Regions from separate parts of the Homo sapiens genome. Here region 2 is linked to region 1. Evidence: promoter capture Hi-C in human tissues and cell types (Jung and others, 2019). All regions are on one chromosome and are shown on one strand. The core of a region is centred on a gene start or on the middle of the fragment in contact, and the rest is flanking DNA. Distances in the headings are between cores, read along the strand shown.

What was found. The method cuts DNA at HindIII sites, captures the fragments that hold promoters and counts their contacts. A contact is called where the count stands out against the background at its distance.
Region 2: a fragment that was not itself captured here is called in contact with the fragment with the promoter of FGF3 in region 1 in 2 of the 25 tissues and cell types used here (adrenal gland and stomach).

The regions. Positions count from the first base shown.
Region 1 is chr11:69,817,107-69,824,272 of GRCh38, reverse strand. FGF3 (fibroblast growth factor 3) reads left to right here and starts at 4,857. Exons shown (of 3, transcript NM_005247.4): 1 at 4,857-5,559. The coding sequence starts at 5,340. LOC107984368 (a long non-coding RNA gene) reads right to left here and starts at 5,565. Exons shown (of 3, transcript XR_001748071.2): 1 at 5,200-5,565. RefSeq lists promoters at 4,848-4,994, 4,405-5,242 and an enhancer at 6,797-7,166. The HindIII fragment of the contact is 24,587 bases long and covers 1-7,166 here.
Region 2 is chr11:69,857,215-69,864,380 of GRCh38, reverse strand. No RefSeq gene overlaps it. Among named protein-coding and RNA genes, the nearest start is that of FGF3, 41 kb to the right of the region's middle. The HindIII fragment of the contact is 5,190 bases long and covers 366-5,555 here.

The DNA of each region.
Region 1 (7,166 bases), core at 3,608-6,107:
TTTAAGGAGAACACAGAACATGCAGGTGTGGAGGAGGAACATCCTAGACTGGGAGTGGGTAGCCCGGCACTCCTCCCTCTATCCCCACCTCACCATCCCTGCCTCCTGCCCACTGTCCAAGTGTCCTGGCCACATCTCGCACAGGTCAGCACAGGGGAGAGGTAAACAAAGCCTGCCTGCCCTCTAGAGCAAGCTGCCCTGCCTGAGCTGCTGCTGACGAGAAACAGGCCTAGGTATCAGGGCAGCATGGAAGGAGCAAAGGCCAGGGAGGCCAGAGGAAGAGACTCGCTCTGCCTGGGGTGTGGGCCCCTCCAGGGGCCGGGGCCAGGTCTGCAGGAATGGCAGGAGCTTCTAGATGGAAAGGGTGAAAGGGCCCCCAGGTGGAGGGACTGGCCTGGGCAAAGGGTGGAGAGGGGTAGGGGGGTGCAAGGCAGGGACACAGGGTGATTGCTTGAGTGTGGGTTTGCCACCACAGCTCCCCATCAAAGCTGCCACAGCTCCCCATCAAGCCTGGCCTCGCCCAGCTGCAGTTGACTTCATGGTGGGAGGAGGTGGGGATGTGAATTTCTTCCCTTCCCTCCACCCCACCTCATCCACAGGACTGGGGGTGTACCTCATCATTTGCACTTGTTTTGGGCGGAACTGTGTCCCCCAAGATTTGTATGTTGGAACCCTACTCACTAGGACCTCAGAATGTGGCTGCAATTGGAGCTAGGGTCTTTCAAAGGCGATTAAAGTAAAGCGAGGTCTGTGGAATGGCCCCAGTCCAATCTGACTGGGGTCCTTATAAGAAGAGGTAATGAGGACACAGGCACACACAGAGGGACGAACCTGTGAGGACACAGGGAGAAGATGGCATCTACAAGCCCTGTTGGCTGCTCTGCCTGGAGCCCGATGCCAGGCACTGACAGGCACAGGCTGCCCTCGGTGTTGTGGGGAAGAAAAAGAGCAGCTGGAGGTGTCTGTCCCTGGGCCAGGGGGCCCTCTGCTCCCTCCTCTCCTCTACCCAGAGAGAATCCTCCTTTATGTCTCAGCTTGGGGCTCCAAAATAGCCAAGTAGCCAGGAAATAAGGCGAACATCCATCCATGGATGAAAAATAAACAGCATGTGGTCTGTGCACACGACGGAATGCCACTAGGGCAGAAAAGGGGAGGACACACTGGCACACGCCACACCGTGGATGAGCCTCAAAGTGCTGCGCAGGCCCCACTGCGGGGAGATGTGCCTTCCATCCCACCCCTGCCTGCGGGGGCTCCTAACTTTGCCAGAAGCAAAGTGCCAGCTTTGCCCCAGAGGGACTTAGAGGGGCAATGGTTTCCCTCTCCCCACTGCTCGGGTCCTGGGTCCCGTAGCCAGAAGGGGCATTCCAGTCTTCTCGCCTCATCTCCTGGCTGTGTGACCCCGGGCAAGTCACTTCACCTCTCTGAGCCTCCCTTTCTCATCTGTAATGTGGGGCTGATCAGGGCTGCTCCCAGAATTTCAGGGACCCATGGTCTCCCAGTGACACAGGCAGGCTGGGTCTCTCTCCCACTGCTCTTGGGGACAAGGATGGGGTAAGAGGATGGGGGGGCAGGCAACATAATTAGAGTGAGTTTGGGGCTGGGAGTCAGCATCACATCTGACAGTCCCTGGCCAGCCACCTGCGGCCACACCATAGGACCCTGTTCTCTGCCCTCTCTCCACCCCAGCTCTCTCTCCAGGGGAAGAGGCTAGGGGCAGACTCAGGTACCAGATAGGGCTGGGGGTGCTCTGGGGGACAGGGTCCCAGTGCAGAGGTTCGGGGGATGCTGGTAGGAGCACTTCTGCTGGGCCTGGGGTGTCCAGCCTGGGCTCTGGAAGAGACCAATTAGTCAAATGACTACAGTTGACCATTTGGAAGCAATTAACAGGGTCGCTATTAGCGCATGGTGCACCCCCCGCCTGGCTCCGAATGGGAGGGAGAGGGGCGAGGTTGCCATTATGTGGGTGCCTCTGCCCCACCCCACACACAAGACTTTGTGGCCCAGCCCCCTGCCCCTGCCGGGCAGATGTGGAGGAATCAGGTTCCCCTCCCTTGGCTGGGCCTGAGGGTCCCAGAGTCCCAGGGTGGGGGTCTGGGGGGCTTCCTGGGCTGGAAAGATCAACAGGTTTAGATGAGGAGGAAGAACTCAATAGGTGGGTGAGCAAGGGCCTGGAGGCGCAGCCCAGAAGATGTGGGAAGTGAACTAGAGGTCCACGCGGGTGGGTGAGCATCCCCAGGGTTCCCCCAACACTACGGCATTTGTCAGAGGGGCTGGGGCAGCTGGAGAAGGCAGCTTTGGGCTCCAGACCACTTCCCGTGACTGCAGGGTGGACCGCAGATGGAAGGACCGGGCTGAAGGCTGTCGCCAGCGACCGGAGGAGAGAGGAAAACTTGGCCCAGAGAGCTTGGCTGCCTCGGAAAAGTCATGCTTACCAGAACAGCAGACAGTGAGCCAGGGCCACCAGGAGGGACCTCAGGCAGGGCACCGGCTGTCCTGGTATAACTGCAAATTGCGCCCTCTTTCACTCTCAAAGGCAGCAGGGTTTGCGTCATAAACTGTGGTCCCCTGCGGCTGGAGCATGCCCTGCGCTGATGGGAGGCCAGAGGCTTTGCAGAGGTAATGCCACTCAGTTTCCGGCCCTACCTTTGGGGCATCACACACATGAGAAACCAGTATCTCAGGAGCGACACTACACAGCCAAGGCCTCGTGGCAGGAAGTGGCCGAACCATTCATTCATTTTAGGAGTATGCACTGAGTGGCTGGTGTGTCAGGTTCTCCCTAGGAGCTGGAAACCTCTTGCCCATCCCCTGAGCTTCCCTCCTATAGAGGGGTCACCTTTGGACTCCTGCTTCAGGGCAGCAGCCCCTGCCCTCATCTTGGGTTCTCGGGCACACGGCAACCTGGCAGTGGGCAGGGCTGGAGACCAGAGCCCGGGAGTTTCCCTGGGAACTGCTGGGGGCCCCAGGTGTAGAGCAGGAGGGGCATGGACACCCAGATTGCCTTGGTCAGATTTTTCTGGCTCCTCCCAGTCCTCCAGAGGGGGTCCTGCCAAGGAGGCAGCCGGAGCCTTGACAGGAAAGGGCATCGGAAGTCCCCTGGCCCCAGCAGGCTGCTCTTGCTCTCTCTCTCTTAAAACATTATTGTGTCCTCTCTCCTCTCTCTGTCAGACTGTGCCCCCTGACTGCACCCCTCTCTGAATTTCTTGTGCACCCCCCACCCCCGCCACTACATCTCCTCTCTTCTTGGCCAGGTGTCAGGAGGTAGCAGAGCTAAGGCATTTAGAGCAGCGACCTCCTTCCTGTGCCTCTTCCATGCCTCTTAGGGAGCCCAGGTGACCACACATCCCAGCCCAGGCCTGCACAGGGCTGCACTGGACAAGCTCTCCTCTTGCTGCTGTCCTTTGGGGCTTTCCTGTCACCAGCCTCTGACCCCTGTAACACAGTCTCCATCAAGAGTCTGAGGCTCCAGTAGTTCAGTGGCTGGCCTCTGGCCTGTTCAAGGACTCTCACAAGCTGGCCCTGGGGCAGCGGCTAGGAGACCCTGACTAAGACTGAGGTGCTCGGGGATGGCTTGGGGGCGCCCTCCTTCAGGATGGCCACCTGGACCCTGTGCACGCTGGAGTGGGCTCACAGAGGACACACTGCCCTGTGTGTATTGGGCCATGGGAGCTGGACACGTCCCAGGGGTGTGTGCTCACTGCCACAGCTCATGGTGCCCTGCACACTTGCCTGACCCCAAACCCTGATGCAGATGGCAGGCTGGGGAATGTCAGCCCACCCAACTCACCCCAGAGCCCCTGGTCAACTTGGAGCCAAAGCTGTGGCCTAGACCCCTGGACTCCACAGCGTGCCCTCCTCTGGGGCAGGGTTGAGAGAAGCAAATCCCCTGTGCTGGCCCCTGCTTCCTGCTGGCCCCAGGACCCTGGGGGACAGAGGACCAGGAAGCAAGAGAAATGGGTGGGGACATGGCTTTTCCCGATACTTTTTGAAGCCCCTCTTCACTGGGCCCCCTGAGATACACCTTGACCCCCACACAGTCCAGGGGACCACCTGGGCATCTGCACTGATTCAGATCCTCCAGGCCAGGACTCCCCCACACCCATTCCCAGCTTCTACCGGGTTCCTCTTGTCATCACCCACCCGCTGTGGCTACCAGACTCCCTGTGCTTTTCTCTGGGTGTTCTCCGCGGCTCTGTCTTCTTTCCATCTCCCCTGCCTCCTCTTTTTGGCGATCTCTGTCATTCACATTTTCCATGTCTTTCCCGTCCTTTCCTCCTCCGTTTCTGTCTGTCTCTATCTGCATCTCTTTCTCTCTAGGGCTCTCTGTCGGCGCCCACTTCTCTGGCTCTCGCGTCCCTCCTCCCGCCTCCCCAGGCCCCTCTCTGGACCGTCACTGGGACGGGATCCTCCGAGGCCTGCCAGACGAGAGCTAACCCCACCACTCCGGGTGCCCAGTTGGTGTGCGCAAAAGGAGATAGCATCTCCAGACCCGGCCTGCCCCGCGCCTTGCAAGGCTGAGGACAGCGCCACTGCTCCTGCAGGAAGCGCCGGGCGCAGACACAAACCCGGAGCTCCCCACGCGTGCCCGCGCCCCGGAGCCTCCCTGCCGCCGCCCTCCGCGGTCCCCTTCATTATGCGCCGCCTTTAATGGGCGTTTGTCAGCTCGACTTCCCCGCAAGTTGTTTTCACGGACATCAGTCATCGGCGGCGGCCCCATTGTGCAGGGGGATTGATGGGGAGCGGGAGGGGGTGACAGGGCCTGGGGCGGCCTCCTCAAGGCCTCGGTCTATAATTTTCGGAGGCATAATTGGTCTGGGGGAGGGGGCGGGGGAGGGGCGGGTAGGGGACCTTTCAGAGCCAGGAGGGCTTTCGGGGGCGTGGGGCGCGCTGCGGAGCGGAGCCGCGGCTCGACGGCGGTGCGCTGGCGGCGAGTGTATGCAGACGGCGCCCGGCCCGAACCCCGAGCCCCGCGGGGCTCCCCACCCGCCGGCCTCCCGCCCCTCCCGCGCCTCCGCCTGGGGACCACGTCGGCCTTTTGTTGGCGAACCGTCCTTTCTTTCAGCGCTTTGCGCAGCAACGGAAATTTCATTGCTCCTGGGTGGAAATTAAAGGGACTCGCGTTCCCTCTCTCCCTCTCCCTCTCCCACTCTCCCTCTCTTTCTCTCTCTCGCCCACCCTTCCCCCTTCTTCCCCCACCTTTCCCGCGAAGCCGGAGTCAGCATCTCCAGGCGCGGGATCCCGCTCCGAGCACCTCGCAGCTGTCCGGCTGCCGCCCCTTCCATGGGCGCCGCGCTCGCCTGCAGCCGCCGCCGCCGCGGGGCGGGCGCGATGCCACGATGGGCCTAATCTGGCTGCTACTGCTCAGCCTGCTGGAGCCCGGCTGGCCCGCAGCGGGCCCTGGGGCGCGGTTGCGGCGCGATGCGGGCGGCCGTGGCGGCGTCTACGAGCACCTTGGCGGGGCGCCCCGGCGCCGCAAGCTCTACTGCGCCACGAAGTACCACCTCCAGCTGCACCCGAGCGGCCGCGTCAACGGCAGCCTGGAGAACAGCGCCTACAGTGAGTGCCGGACGCTGCGGGGCCCCGGGGGAAGCGGCGCCGGGAGGGGTCGGGCCCGGGAGAAGGCGCGCTGCGGGGCCCCGCGGGGGAGGCGGCGCCGGGGAGGGGTCTGGCCCGGGAGAAGGCATGGTGCGCCCGGGGTGTCCGGGAAAAGACCGTCTGCCTCCCGCTGCCAGAAGGGGAATGCCAGGGTGCCCTCCTCAACCTACACGTCCGGGAGAAGAGCGCGCGCTGGGGTTCGAGCAGAACTCGGGGGCATGGGCGTTCACGTCCGAAGAGGGCGCCGGCGGCTGTCAGAGTCCGTCCCCGGTCCGGCCCGCTGGTCTGAGGGGACGCGAGCTAGGCGACCCCGGGGCTCCAGGCTCTGCTGCTTTGGGCAGCTCTGACAAGTTTAAGCCCTTTGAATGTGTCGGAGAAAAGGAGCCGGACAAGGCATTTATCATCCTCTTTATTATTTTGACGACTTCTCCTCCTCCTGCCGACCCCTGGACGCCCCGCCGTCCCCTCCGCCCTCCCCGCTCGCGGCTGCCCAGGTGGCCGCCCCCGCTGCTGCCTCTGCGCGGAGGACTCTTGCCCTGCGGAGCTCGGTTCCCTGGCCGCGGCCGCCACCGACAGTTATTCCCCGCGCTGGAATCTGCACCTCCCCCGCCTCCGCCCTGGCCGCACAGCGACAGGAGGGTGGAGGCCCTCGCCGTCGGGACGTGCGGATCACGAGCGCGGAACGGTGTCCGCCCGGGCCTGGGGGTGCAGACACACACACTCCGGCCCCCGCACGCAGGACCCGCGGCCCGGGCTGCGCTCACCGCGGGAGTCTGCCGGACTACACGGTTGGGCTCCTCTGGTCACAGGGACCTGAGGCCCGCGCCGAGCCCTTTGAGGAGCAGGATAGCGGAGCTCAGGGCCCGGGAGGACCGCGTGGGGAGCGTGGGAGGGCAGTCAAGACCACAGCTGTCCTCGGGTGCTCCGCGCGGCGCTCGGCTCCGGCCCCGGGCGCAGGAAGCGGTTCCGCCGCTTGAAGGTGGCGGCGGCGGCCTCAGCAAACCGCGGCTTCCTCCAGGAAAGCCGCAGCCCTGAGAGGGCGTCCTGGGGACATGCGCCTCCGGAGCCGCACGGTGGGCACCAGCTGTCACCAGGGGGTCCGAGTGCGCGGAATTCGTCTCACTAAGACACTCCGGTTCTCTCCAAAGCCAGGCTCCCCCTCGGAGTCGCACAGCATCCAAACTTCTTGGTGTAGGCTGCTCACGGGGAGGGGAGGGCGCGCGCCCGCAGCCGCCCCTGTCCTGCGTCGAGACTCGTGCTTCGCTGGTCCCCGGTCAGGCACCGCCGATGCCGCCCAGCCTGCGCACTGGGAAGGCGGGAGGCTCGCAGCCTGCACCACAGCACCCCTGGGCTGGAGCAAAAGCCCGGTGGTGACCGCGTCTGTGCTCGGACCGCGTGCCAGGAGGGCGCTCCTGAGAGGCATGCCTTGGAGAGGGTGCAGGCAGTCGCCCCAATCCCCTCGCAGCCTCTATTGGGAGACAATGACCCCAACCCGTCCTTTGATGTAGTCCCCCGCCCCCAGCCCCCACCACAGCACTCGTGTATCCAGAAGGAAAGGCGGGAGGGGA
Region 2 (7,166 bases), core at 1,711-4,210, 42 kb before region 1:
TGTCCCCCACTGCACCCACCCCACCCCCCCAAATGTTCAGTGGCAATCCTGGCAAATGTCTACAAAATCGAGTTTTCCCAGCAGGATGCAACGCATCTGCTTGGCCTGAGTCACCTGCCCCACAGCCCACAGAGCTGAAAACTTGGAGCAAAAGGAACAGTGGCCTCCAGGGCACCATAGCCTGGCCCACCATTTAAGGGGGTGGTGGGATGAAAGGAGGGGTGGGGGAAAGAAGGCAGCATTGACCTAAATCAAGGTGGACACTTGAGGCCCCGGCCGTGTGCGGCTACTTGTGGCTCTGCAGGTGGCGGGAGGCCCTCTGCACCCACCTGCCCTGTGAACCCAGGTCCAAAGCCGCAGTGAGGGCCTGGAAGCCGGAGGGAGCCAGGATGGAAGCTGCTTCTTTGAGGGCCAAAGGGTTTCCGCGTGTGCAAAGGCAGGGCGCTGCATTGGGTGGGTCCCAGAGGCTGTCCTGCCGTGGCTGCACCTCTCTGTGCCCCACCCCACCCCACCAAACCTCACTGGGGAAGGAGGAAGCCTCAGGGGGCTCTTGGGGGCTCAGAAGGCCCAACTGCAGCAGGTGCTCACCAGTGCCTGGGCCTCAGAGCTGGGAGCCCTTCCTGGCCTTGAGAAATGACAGGGCCGTGGACTTGGAAGCATCCATGCTGGGACATATGACACAGCAGTGGGCCTAGTAAAGTGTCAAACCACGCGGCAGCTCAGATAGACCTTCCCGAATGGCCTGGATGGAGAGAAGCCACAGAGCGGCCACAGAGGAGCACATCCAGCGGGATCCCACGTACAGAGAGCTGCAAAGAGCCCAAATGAACCTGCTGGGGGACACAGGTGGGCGGTCACACCACACAGACGAGCAGGGAAGTGAGTCCCCGAGGGTCAGGGCTGGGGAGCGAGTGGTCTGGCGGGACACTGGTCTCTTCGTGGCCTGGGTGGATGTTGTCTGAGAGCGAGTGTGCGGCTGCCTGGGCTCTGGAGTGGGCTGGCTCTCCCACTGGTGCGGTGATGTGGGGAGCTCACATGACCTCTCCCTTTCTTATCTGTGAAATGGGGGCACAGGTCTACATCCCTCCTGGGTGGTCATGAGGGCTAATAGAGTGTGGAAGCCTCAGTTATGAGTGAAGGAAGCTGCTGCCCACCCTGTAGCCACCACCACCACCACCATCATCATCATCATCATAGATGTCTTCAGGTCAAAGGCCAGGGAAGGCGCTGCTGCTGCTCTCCTTGGCTGTCCCTGAGGCCTGGAACTTGGGGGAGGAGGAAGAGGAGGTCTTCTCAGCTGACTCTGAAGCCAACAAGGATTCAGGGTTATGGGGATCCCAGGGGTGGGGACAGATGTCAGCCTCTGGCTGCAATGGGCAGTAAGTGGGGCCAGGGCAGCCTGACCCCCAGGGGACCAGGGAGTTGCTGGTGGGTGCTGCAACTTCTTTAGTGATCAGTAAAACTCCCACCTCTGCCCCCATAGAAGGCCTCCTGGAGGGAGCTATCTCCTGGGGCCCGGCCGTTGACACCTCCATGGACAGGCTGAAGTAGTTGGCTTTTGAGTGTCTCTCCAAGACAGCAATTTGCCACCTCATTATGAGCTTGATGGATGAGCACTGACCGGGACAGCCGTCCCCTTGGGTGGGGGAGTGGCCCTGGGCCACCCAAGGCCCAGAGAAAGGCAGCTGATGTGCATGACAAAATGTTTTCTTACCGCCCGGTGCCAGTGACAGCCCCTCAAAGGAAATGCAGTCTCTGCAGAAGTGATTCATGCGCCCGTCTTTGTGGGGCCGAGATTGGCTGTTGTTTGGCGGTTGAAGAAAGGGCCACCGGCTCCTTGTAGTCTCTGGGAATGCCGTCTCCGTGGGCCACCAGCCCCCCGGTCAGCACGCACGAGGCCACTCTTCATTTTGATGAGGTTTCCAAAGGCCCTGGCTGCAGCCGGGGCCACTGCTTGGTCGGGGCCACTGCAGGCCGGCTCAGTAGCAACCTTTGCGGGCCGTGCTTGATTCCATAAGAGAGAAAGGGCCCCTGCCAGCCCATCTGTAATCTTCGATAGCACCAGGTCCCCAGCAACCTGCACCCACCAAGGGGTCATCAAATATGCACTATGTCATCAGCTGATTGACACCTTGCTCCCCTCCACGAGGGCCATTCTTACAACCCCAATATTCCCCGACCATTCCCTCCACGGGTCTCTGTTTGCCTGTTGCCATGCTCCAGGCCTTGGATACAGCTGTGAGCGGGACAGACTGGGCTCATGTGGCTGTGTGTCCCACAAGGGAAAGCCGGACAGTAAACCAATGCGTGGGTGAGATGTCCAATGTGACCAGTGCTCAGGGGCAGGCAGTGGTGGGGCTTGTGTCCTTGCTAGGGTGGTCAGGGAAGCTTCTCCAAGGGGGTGATCCAGTGTGATGATGGACAATTTCTGCATTTCTCTGAGTTTCTTCCCCGTAAAACAGGGATAATAGTAGTTGTATCATACAGTTGTTGCATGCATGAAATGACACACAGCATGAGACACACTCAGCTCCATCGGGGATGCAGTAAGACCTCAATAAACCACACAGCTATTACATTGCGGCTGCCATTGTCATTAATTTTTAGTTTCAGATCATTCCAGTTAGAAGCCTTTCCAGATCCTATGAACCTCTGTTCATTAATCTTTCACTTAGCCAATGCTTCTGGGGCAATGAGTCCTCAGAAACTAGGTTTGCCCAGAGTGTCGGAGGCCCCTCCAAAAGCGGGGGCTGGCAGGACCACGGCCGTTTCCTGCAGGAGAAAGATGAGAGAGAGGTAGAGGTGGCCACTATCCAGGTGAAGCAAGAGGAGCCCTCGTTTTTGACACCTGTCCCAGATGGGCAGGAGTTCTGGATTGCCAAGGTCAGCCTTGGGTCTGTGCAGGTGAGCCCAAGGATTTGGAGCTACTTGGTCTGAGGAGTGAGAGCTGAGCTCTGGGGAAGAAGTTGTCAAAGTAAAAGCAGAAAGGGTCCTGGAAAAAGCACTCGACTAGGAAGCTGGAGTCCAGGGTTCTAGCCCCACAATATGCCTGTACCTTGCTGCCTCCCTTTGGGCAGGTCACCTGATCCCTCTTGGTGTCATCCCTCCTATAATGGGCTGGACCAAGCGAATGCTCCGTGCACTGCATCCCAAGAGTCCTGGGGATCTGCTGGAGGTGTTGCGGGATCTGGGTTTAGAGTGAGAGTGGCTCAGGAAGGACAGTACCAAGTAGTTATCACTGCACAGCAAACCACTCCAAACTCGGTGACTTCACATGAGGAGTGCTTCTTCTATTCACAAGCCCAGGGGTCAGCCGGGCAGTCCTGCTTATCTGGATGAAGCTCGGGGGATCTTGGCTGGACTCATCGTATGTCTGCAGACAGCAGGTGGGCTGGCTGGTTTAGGATGCCCTCACTTCCATGCCTGAAGATTGGGCAGCTCTCAGCTGGAGTCACGGTGGACCACTGGGCCACTGTCTCTCTTCCTCCAGCAGGCCAGCCCCTGGTAAGAGTCCTGGGTCCTCTTAGGGCCTAGGCTCAGAATTGGTGGCTGGTCTCTGCTGCCACAATTCTATTTTTTTTTTCTTTTTTGAGACAGAGTCTCTCTCTGTTGCTCAGGCTGGAGTGCAGTGGTGTAATCATGGCTCACTGCAACCTTCGCCTTCCCAGCTCAAGCAATCCTCTCACCTTAGCCTTCTGAGTAGGTGGGACTGCAGGTGCATGCTACCATGGCAACACAAACTAATTTTTTGTGTTTTTTTGTAGAGACAGGGTTTCACTGTGTTGTCCAGGCTGGTCTCGAACTCTTGGACTCAAGCAATCTTCCCTCCTCCGCCTCTCAAAGTGCTGTGATTACAGGCATGAGCCACTGCACCCAGCCACTGCAGTCACATTTTTTTGGCCAAAGCAAGTTACAAAACCAACCCTGATTCAAGGGACAGGGAAATAGACTTTGCCTCTTGCTAGGAATTGCTGCAACCAGGAGTGTTGAGTTGGGGAGGAAAATAATTAGGGGCATTTCTGCAGTCATTTAACCACGAGGACCAACAAACAAGACTTGAAGCGGGGTGGGGCCAGAAGCAGGAGAGACGCACTGTAAACAGGATCCTCTCCAGAGGGCAACATGGAGTCCAGCTCAGAGGTAGAGCTCACATTTTCCTCCAAAACTACACGTGGCTATTTTTTCTTCCTGGTATTACCCCATCCCCTTGTGTGTATATTTTTTAAAGAAGAAAACATTCTCTCAGATTAAACAAAATTGTACTTGTGATCACAGTCTCAGCTTTTACACCGTGAGAACATCGGAGGATTTGTGTAGGAAGCCTGAAGGTGTGTCGCTGTGGGTGACCCGTGGGCCAGTCTGTAGAAAAGACAAGAACTGCAAGTTCGTATAATACAAAAGCCTCCCCTGCTGCATGGGAAGAAATGGATCTGGTACCTTAGAACTGGGGAGTAAAGGGATAAATGAGAAGAAGCGACAGCTCTTCCTTACCAAAGAATCCAATTAATAAATGTAGAAAGAATTTGGAAAATAGAAAATCACCATTAGAACAACAAAGTCATCACAGTCATAATGTGTCCAGAGTTGGTTCCCGCTGGTGGGTTCGTGGTCTCGCTGACTTCAAGAATGAAGCAGCAGACCTTCGTGGTGGGTGCTACAGCTCTTAAAGATGTCCCGGACCCAAAGAGTAAGTAGCAGCAAGGTTTATTGTGAAGAGCAAAAGGACAAAGCTTCCACCACATCCAAGGGGACCCGAGTGAGTTGCCCCTGCTGGCTGAGGTGGCCAGCTTTTATTTCCCTATTGGCCCCGCCCATGTTCTGTTTCTGTCCTATCAGAATGCCCTTTTTTCAGTCCTCCCAGTGATTGGCTACTTTTAGAATCCTGCTGATTGGTGCATTTTGCAGAGCACTGATTGGTGTGTTTTACAGAGCGCTGACTGGTGAGTTTTACAGAGCGCTGACTGGTGCGTTTTACAGAGGGCTAATTGGTGCATTTTACAATCCTCTTTTAAGACAGGAAAGTTCCCTAAGTCCCCACTCGACCCAGAAAGTCCAGCTGGCCTCACTTCTCAATAATTGTTACAGGTAATATCTGCTGGTTGAGGCTAAAATTAGTGGGTACAAGTTTGAGGAGAAAGAGGATATTTGCATAGTCTGAAAGTATTGCTCCTAAAGTTATTAATTACAACAGGAAAAGTAGTAAGGAAGACACCACCTTAACCAAGTGATCTAGGTTAACTTTGCCACTAATGAGATACAGTGACATGGGCATTGCTTCTAGGGTATTCTTGCAAAAATGCATAACCTCCACCTTATCATGAGATAACATCAGATAAACCCAAATTGAGGAAAATTCTGCTAAATAACTTACCATCACTCTTCAAAAGCGTCAAAGTCACGAAAGATAAGACAAGGCTGAGGAAGTGTCTCAGACTGAGGAGGCTAGGAGGATATGACAAGTAAATACAATATGATGTCCTGGACTGGATCCTGGAACGGGAAAAGGACATAGCGATGAAATTTATGAAACCTGAATCAGGTCTGTAGTTTAGTTGATAGTGTTGAACCCATGTTAATTTCTTAGTTTCGACAATTATATTTGGCTGCTTGAGATACTAACATTAAAGGAAGCTGGGTAAGGAAGTCTTGGGACTATTTACTGCCACTTTTCTTTCAGTTGAAAATTATTTCAAAATAAAAAGCTAAAAAAAAAACTATGTGAAGCAAAGTAATTTTGGTTCCAACCATATTGTACTGAGTATTAAGATCACCCTTTCATCATAAACAACTATTCAACTGGGTGCAATATTTAAAATAACTTTTGAAGGCATCAGACAACAGAAAATACAGGGCTGTTTTCCTTCATGGGGAAAGACATATGGGAATAAGCCCCGCCTTCATTCTGGCTTTATACTTGAGGGAAATTTCTAAACTGAGGCACAAGGCAGCCAAACCCAACCTAAAGCAGCATTCTTGCCATTGCAGCTCTAGAACAAGGGCTCTTCTAGGCCCACAATAACAAGGAATGAAAATAATCTTCAATCAAACTGTTTCACCAATAAATTAACAGCCTGTTAAGGGGAGAAAAATTCTCAAGATTCTTTAAAGGAAGACAATAAAATCCAGACTAAAACAACATAGCATTTGCAATGTCTAACGTACAGTAGAAAAATTACTAGACATTCAAAGAGGCAGAAAAAATGTGACCCATACTCAGAAGAGAAAAAGTAATTAATAGAAACAAACGCAGAGATGACACAGATGATTTAGCAGACTTTAAAACAACGTGAGCGTTAGAGGTGCCAACACCCCATACAGTCAAAAATCCATGTTTAACTTTTGAATCCCTCAAAACTTAACTGCCTGTTGTTGACCAGAAGCTTACCAATAACAAATAGTTGATTAACACATATTTTGTAAGTTTTACGTGTTATACACTGTATTCTTACAATAAAGTAAGCTAGAGAAAAGAAAATGTTATTAAGAAAACCATAAGGCAGCCTGGTCAACATAACAAGACCCTATCTCTATAAAAAATTTAGAAATTAGTCGGGTGTGGTGGCACACACCTGTAGTCAGGAGGCTGAGATGGGAGGATAGCTTGAGTGCAGGAGTTTGAGGCTGCAGTGAACTATGATAGGGCCACTGCACTCCAGCCTGGGGGACAGAGTGAGACTCCATCTCAAAAGAAAGAAAGAGAGAGAAAGAGAAAGAGAGAAGGAGGGAGGGAGGGAGAGAGGTAAGCAGGCAGGCAAGCATGAGGAAGAAAAAATATGTTGATTATTCATTAAGTGGAAGTGGATCATCATAGAGGTCTTCATCGTCATTGTCTTCATGTTGAGTAAGCTGAGGAGAAGGAGGAAGAGGAAGAGGAAGAGTTGGTCTTGCTCTCTCAAGGGTGACAGAAGTAGAAGTAGTGGACGAGGTAGAAGGGGGAGCAGGAGAGGCAGGTGCACTTGCTGTAACTTTTATTTTTAAAAATCCACTTATAAATGGACCTGCACAGGTAAAACCTGAGTTGTTCAAGGGTCAACTGTATTATAAATATGCTCCAGGCCTTAAAGAAGAAAATGCACATAATGAATACAGAGATGAAGAATCACAGCAGATATATGAAAACTAAAAAAGAAGTAAATGGAAATTCCCAGATCTGAAAAGTACAATGT